Linked DNA regions of Homo sapiens: region 1 is linked to region 2. Evidence: promoter capture Hi-C in human tissues and cell types (Jung and others, 2019). All regions are on one chromosome and are shown on one strand. The core of a region is centred on a gene start or on the middle of the fragment in contact, and the rest is flanking DNA. Distances in the headings are between cores, read along the strand shown. Region 1 holds the start of FBXW12 (F-box and WD repeat domain containing 12). Region 2 has its middle 2.6 kb from the start of IP6K2.

Region 1 (3,759 bases), core at 1,260-3,759, 350 kb before region 2:
TAACCTCTGTATGTGTTGGCTCCCACCTATGTGTTCTAAAACTGGTGCCTGGGATTGGTTTTAATCAGGTGTGGCAAAGCGTGCAGACACAGCAATGATTGTCATGAAGGAAGAAGTTTATACTCACAGATCCCTATAAACAAGAGGCCTGGCTCCCCACGCAGGGCCACATGGAGAGCACCAAGGGCAGTCAGGAGGCAGAAGGGGCGGGGCAGCATAGGCCTGAGCCTTTATTGTGTTTTCTGTAAGAAACGAAGAGGGCAGAACAGGGTAAGCCTTTTAGAATGGGCTAGTTTAAATGGTTCTGGCTGGCTTTGAGGCATAGGGGCCGTCTCCAGTTGTCTGGTACCTGGCCCTGGGTTGATTTAGGGCAGGAGGAATATTAACTTGCTGTGTGAGAGTTTGGTAAAGGAGATGATTGTGGGTGTGGGCTGTAGCTTGGTTCGTTTGCATAAAAGGCACTCTCCTTTGCTATCTGGCTAGGCCTGGGAAGGAGAGTCTCTCCCCAGTCAGCAAGATCACAAATGCCAGAGCATCAAGAATACAGAAAATTAAAAATATACAGAGAATACAACTGGCCCTGTGATGGATGCCAGACAAATTCAGAATCTAAGAGAACACGGAGCACCCTGGCAAGGTGGCCAGTAATAGGACTTACCTCATCTAGCCGTTGTGAGGATTAAATAGATGAGCCCCTGTAAATTGTTTAGACGGGTGCCTTGCCTGCAGAAGGCGCCATGAAAGGTGTGCTGTTACTTCTCCCCTTGCTACGCCCCCTTTACTTCCCATGCTGTGTCGTCCCTCCCTCTCTGTCCTACTCTCAGGCTGCCCAACTCCTTATGGATCCCTCTTCTCAGGTTTCCCCAGCTGCCTGCTTTAATCTACTTTCTCCTAGACAATGTCCGGACCATTCTCTCACCTGCATCTTATCTTTTGCTTAGACTATTACGCAGTTACCATTTCACATCTCTCAAATTTTACATCTCTTAACTCTTGTGACATTTAGATTTGTCTTCATCTATTGTTGCAATGTGTCTTTCTCTGCCGCTTTTCTGGTAGCACCCCGCCACCACCACCCCCCAACACACCTTCCTGTTCCTCTATTTTTTTTGTTGTTGTTGTTGAGATGGAGTCTCGCACTGTCGCCCAGGCTGGAGTGCAGTAGCGCAATCTCAGCTCACTGCAACCTCCACCTCCCAGCTTCAAGCAATTCTCCTGCCTCAGCCTCCCAAGTAGCTGGGATTACAGGCACCCGCCACCACGCCCAGCTAATTTGTTGTATTTTTAGTAGAGACAGGGTTTCACTATGTTGGCCAAGCTGGTCTCAAACTCCTGACCTGGTGATCCACCCGCCTCGGCCTCCCCAAGTGCTGGGATTACGGGCATGAGCCACTGTGCCTGGCCTCTGTTCCTCTATTTCAAATTCATTCATTCACTCATTCGGCAATTTGCTTCAGTTTCCTTATGTTTGCCTCTTTCTCATCTGTCCTCTTTTCCATTTTATTCCTACTCTGTCTCAGTCCACTTACAGTTATATTTCCTATCTGTGTATTTTATAATATTTGTGCTTTAATACTTTTAAAATATCCTTTATTTTACTGTTTCTTCTCTTCCCTTGTCATATTTTAAAGTGTTTTATTTCTCAGCCTTCTATATCTTTGCATTAATTCTGTTCCTCTACAATAGAGTCCGTTCCAAGCTTTCTGTCTTCCTGTGTCCTTCCACGGCTCTGGCTCTCTCTGCATTATTTCCTATTTATGGAATACAAATCTTTTACCCTTGTATTTTTCTCACTCCTCTCCACACACCCCTTGACTCGCCTTTCCCCACGCCCCTCTAGGTGCTTCTTGGTCTTTGCTTTTCCTTTTTATTTCCTCACCATGTCAATTTGTATTTTTCCTCTCTCTTACTACTGTATCATAAATGGGACTCCCGACAACCACTCCCGTGTGTCTGCCTGGAGGCAGCAGTTTTAAGAAGGGTTGGCCACTGAGCCTCACAGAGGGACCCCTGTCTTATGCTGCAGCAAAGTACCATAGACTGGGTGGCTTACAAACAAATTTATTTCTCACAATTTTGGAGGAGAGAAGTCCAAGAGTCACCTGTCAGCACGGTCAGGTTCTGGTGTGGGCCTTCTTCCAGGTTGCAGCTGACACCTTCTCATGTCCTCGCATGATATGAACAGGGCTAGAGAGCGTTCTGGGGTCTCTTTTATAAGGTCACTGGTCCCATCATAAGGACTCTGCCTGTGACCCACTTACCTCCCAAAGGCCCCCCACCTCCAATCACACCAAGGGTTAGAATTTCAACGTAGGAATTTTGAGAGGACACAAACACCCAGGCTATGACACGGTCTTTAGAAAATCCCAGAATGAGTTGTCAGGTTCTTGGGAGATCTGTAACTGTGGGAAAGCGTCACATCCCAGGGAAAGCCACCAGCTGGGAGAGCCATCCCAGACAAGGCCTGCTCCCTTTGGGCGGACCTCTGTGGAGAAGCCAGCTTGGCACGTTCTTTCTCCTCCACTGCAAAGTTAAATGCGAGAAGGTAGAAACCCAGAGGCCATGCTGGCGCTGAGAGATGAGCCCCACTCACCAGATTCAAGATCCCAAGGTAGGCACAGACACAGGGCAAGCAGACTCCAATTCCAGGAGTTTGGAACTTAAATAGAGTCATAGAGACACTCAGATCTGATCAAAGTGAGTGCACTCGGTGACATTTCCTAAAGGGTTCTGACAACTTCATCTGCAACTGGGGCTGCCCCAGGTTCTGCACCTCCAGCTCACAGCGCACAGGTGTTGCTGAGCTCCTCTAAACAATGAACAGCACTAACAAGTGGGTTTAGGTAGGGATGCCTGCCAGCTGTGTGGATCAGGCCCCAGGGGAGAGGCCGGGGTGGAGGTCAGCCCGGGAGTCTGCACACCTGCAGCTTGTTTCTACCGCACACAGATGGGCATGGGTGAAAATCTTTACAAGTGCTGCAGACTTTGGCAAAGCCTATAAATTCAGAGCAGCCCGGAGAGGAGAAAGGAAAGTGGATGTGGGTTCAGGCCGCATGAAATGGAGATCCGATTGCCTGACTTAGCTTTGAAGCGAATCTTCTCTTTCCTGGACCTGTTCGGCTTGCTGCAGGTTTCCCAGGTGAACAAGGTAAAGGCCTTCCACCTCCCACTGCCCCCCAAGCCCGCTGCTTCTCTCGACCAGTTTGAGCACCACTTTGCAGAATAGCAGAGGGTTACACTGAGGCTTTGGGGGTTAGCATTCTTCATACTGAGGGCCTCATATTCTGTTAAACGAAAAGGACAAGCTGATATCCAGGAGTTGTGCTGACTAAACAGTCCTTGAGGCTCCCATTTCAAGCCCTAGGAAATCAACACTTCTTCCTGTGAATTCATGGGAATACCCAGTGCCTGTATTAGCAGTGATAGGTCTCTGTTGTTACCATTTCCTTATCTCCCCACACTGAGAGTGCTTTGAGAGCTGGAATCCCATCTGATTAACCTGTGCGGGCCCAGCTCCCAGAACAAATAATAGCAGAGGATTACCCTTGCTCTCTGATGTAACTGATTGCCTGCTTGTCTCTTCCTTTCTCTCCCATAGCATTGGAATAGGATTGCAGACAGTGATTACCTGTGGAGGTAAGGGAAGGGAAAGGGCAAGGAGGGAAGGGGAGAGGAGATCATCTGACTGCGCACCCATGCTGTGTCCCAAGGCCTGTGTGGCTGTGTTGTGAGATATACACAGGAAAGTTAGTGTGAGTA
Region 2 (3,519 bases), core at 523-3,022:
ATAAATATCCCTGACCTTATAACAGTGGATAGGAGAGACTTCTGTGAGCAGCTCCTCTCACCTTAGCATGTGGTTTCCAGGGCTCCATGTCCTCCTGGTTTCCTCCAGTCTCACCAGTTTCTCATCTGTGTGTTTTCTCTTTGTCTACACTCACTCTTCCAAAATCTTATCCAGGCTCATGACTTCAAATGCCACCTACATGTCAATCACTCCTAAAAGTGTTTGTCCAGTCCAGACCCTTCCTGAGTGGCAGATTCACTAGTCCCACTGTCAACTAGACATCTGCACTCTGACTTCCAGTTGCTGGCATCTCAAACGCAACTTGTGCTACCCTAACACTGGCTCATCCGCCAAACCTACTTCACCCCACTTTCCCCAAATTGAGTGATAGCATCTCAGCCCTTCTTATTGCTCAAGTCAAACACCTCAAAGTACCCCTTGACTACTCTCTTTCCCATCTATATTCAGTGCACCAGGAAGGTCTGCTGTCTCCATCAGCATCATCTACCCAGAATGAAATCACTTCTTGCCACCTCCATACCTTTCACTGAGTCCAAACTGCCACCATTTCTCTTGAGTGCAATGTCACAGCTGCCTCCTGGTCTCCTCTTGCTGCCCCTGATGCCTTCAGTCTGTTCTGCACACATCAGCCTGTGAATACATGAGTCAGATCCTCCCATTCCCTGCTCAGAACCCTGGAGTACTTCCTCCCCAAGGGAAAACCAGAGACATCAGGACCTTCATAATTCCCTATCACCCCCCCGACTGTATCTCCCCGGCCAGCTTTTGGCCTTGCTGCTCAATCTCCCAGTGTTCCTCACACATCACACCCCATGCACTCTCCTGCACAGTGTATGAGTTATGGTTGTTCCCATGCCTGGATTGCACAGATTTCCAAAGAGCTGCACCCCAGCTCTCAGAGCCCCTCATTTCAGACTGTAACCTGCCCCACTCTGCCCCCAGCACTCAGTACCACCTTTATCCCCTCATCCTGGCTCTATATGTTTCCATAGCAGTTACCACCTTCTCAGAATTTTTTTTTTTTGAGACATAATCTTGCTCTGTCACCCAGGCTGCAGTGCTATGACATTGCAACCTCCGCTTCCAGGGTTGAAGCGATTCTCATGCCTCAGCCTCCCAAGTAGCTGGGATTACAGGCGTGTGCCACCACACCCGGCTAATTTTTCTATTCTTCAATAGAGACGGGGTTTCACCATGTTATCCAGGCCAGGCTGGTCTCAAACTCTTGGCCTCAAGTGATACACACTCCTTGACCTCCCAAAGTGCTGGGATAACAGGCATTAGGCACCGTACCCGGCCGCTTCATAGCAGTTACCACCTTGGGGCCGCCCTAGCATTAATTCACTCTTCCATTCCTTTCACAAGTGCTTATCAAGGTCTGACTTAGATTAGACACCAGGGATGCAGCGTGAATAAACACAGCAAGAATTCAAATGATTTATTTGTCCGGAGGTGGGTGAGAGGCAACAGACAGTAAAAGAACAAATAACATAATTATAGGCAGAGTGACTACAATGGAGAAAAGGAACCAAGCAAAAGTGCAGAGTATGGTGTTTATGTCTAAGGCAGCAGGAGAGGTAGATCTGAGAAGGGAACATCTGAGCTAAGATCAGCCCAAAGGCACTGGCTGAGCATGGAAAGATCTAGAGGAAGCCATTTCTGACAAAAGCACAGCAAGTACAAAGACCCCGAGGAAAGAAGAAGTTTGATATTTTGAGGGAATATGAAAAAGCCACTTGGGTCTAATGGAAGAAATAGCTCAGAACTTAAGGGAAAGATGCACAGAGCTGAAAACGATGAAGGAATAGACCACAGATCTGGGGGGCAAGTCCAAGAATTCTGATGTGCAGACAGCAGGAGTCCTAAAAGGAGAAAAAGGGACAGCTGAAATGGAGGCACCAGCTAGTCAAACTACAGAAGAAAACTTTCATGACATGAAGAAAACTCTGTGTCAGCCGGGTGCAGTGGCTCACACTTGTAATCCCAGCACTTTGGGAGGCTGAGGCAGGCAGATCACTTGAGGTTAGGAGTTTGAAACCAGCCCGGCCACCATGATGAAACCCTGTCTCTACTAAAAAATACAAAAATCAGCCGGGCGTGGTGTAGTCCCAGCTACACCTGTAGTCCCAGGTGTAGCGTGGTGTAGTCTCAGTGCACCTGTAGTCCCAGCTATTCCGGAAGCTGAGACAGGAGAATCACTTGAACCCAGGAGATAGAGGTTGCAGTGAGCCAAGATCACGCTACTGCACTACAGCCTGGGTGACAGAGCAAGACTCCCTCTCAAAAAAAAAAAAGAAAGAGAAAAGAAAAAAGAAAAAGCTGTGTGTAGATGGGAGGGGTTGGCCACATTCCCAAGCAGGATGAAAGAGAAAGACTACAGTAAAATTCTTAAACTCCAAGGAGAAAGAGACCATTATACAAGCTTCTAGATAGATAAAACAAATTACATACCAAGGAAGAAGGGCCAGCTGGCCTCAAACTCTTACCCGTAACACAGGTGCACTATCTGCCCACCTAGACCCAGCTAAAGGACAGTTGTCATGCCTGGAGAGGAACAATAACCATAAATGGAATGAGGAAAAAATAGTAGAATGTCCAAATTACCAAGGGGAAACATTAAATGAATGACAGTTTAATCAAAGACAGCAAAGAGAAAGAGGAAAATATTAGGTTGACCCTGTGAAACTGCTAATATTTAACTGTTTAAACCTACAAAAACAGTAGTTTCATATAGGTCAACTAAATAAAAATATAAAACTACAAAGTAAAAAATAATAAACCTAGGCCAGGTGTGGTTGCACACGCCTGTGAGCCCAACACTTTGGGAGGCCGAGGCGGTCGGATCACGAGGTCAGGAGATCGAGACCATCCTGGCTAACACGGTGAAACCCGGTCTCTACTAAAAAAATACAAAAAAATTAGCTGGGCGTGGTGGCGGGCGCCTGTAGTCCCAGCTATTCAGGAGGCTGAGGCAGGAGAATGGTGTGAACCTGGGAGGCAGAGCTTGCAGTGAGCTGAGATCGTGCCACTGCACTCCAGCCTGGGCAACAGAGCGAGACTCCATCTCAAAATAATAACAATAATAATAATAATAATAATAAACCTAAATTATGGGGCTGGGCACTATGGCTGTCACCTTTAATCCCAGCTACTCTGGAGGCTGAGGCAGGAGGATCACTTGAGCCCAGGACCTGAAGTCCAGCCTGGGCAACATAGCGAGATCCTGTGTCTTTAAAAAAAAAAAAGGAATTTATGGAATGAGCAAAACTAAACATCTTTATCACAGTAAATAAATCCTGAACTCCCTTTAAAGGCATAGAGACTGGATTAGAGAGACAAAACCCAGCCACATGCTATTTATAGGATATTTGAGACCACACAAACAGAAAAGGCTGAAAAATAAAGGAGTGGGCAGAGAGATCAGGCCAGCACAAACTAGAAGAGAACAGGAGTACATGACATGAGAAAAGGTAGGATTTAAGGTGATAGGCATTGAGC

Evidence for each region. Contacts are between HindIII fragments. The study calls those that stand out against the background at their distance.
Region 1: a contact is called between the fragment with the promoter of FBXW12 here and a fragment that was not itself captured in region 2, in 1 of the 25 tissues and cell types used here (lymphoblastoid cells).

What each region holds. Positions count from the first base shown.
Region 1 is chr3:48,369,710-48,373,468 of GRCh38, forward strand. FBXW12 (F-box and WD repeat domain containing 12) reads left to right here and starts at 2,510. Exons shown (of 11, transcript NM_207102.2): 1 at 2,510-2,611; 2 at 2,975-3,148; 3 at 3,599-3,636. The coding sequence starts at 3,059. The HindIII fragment of the contact is 16,322 bases long and covers 1-3,759 here.
Region 2 is chr3:48,718,107-48,721,625 of GRCh38, forward strand. No RefSeq gene overlaps it. Among named protein-coding and RNA genes, the nearest start is that of IP6K2, 2.6 kb to the left of the region's middle. The HindIII fragment of the contact is 8,187 bases long and covers 1-3,519 here.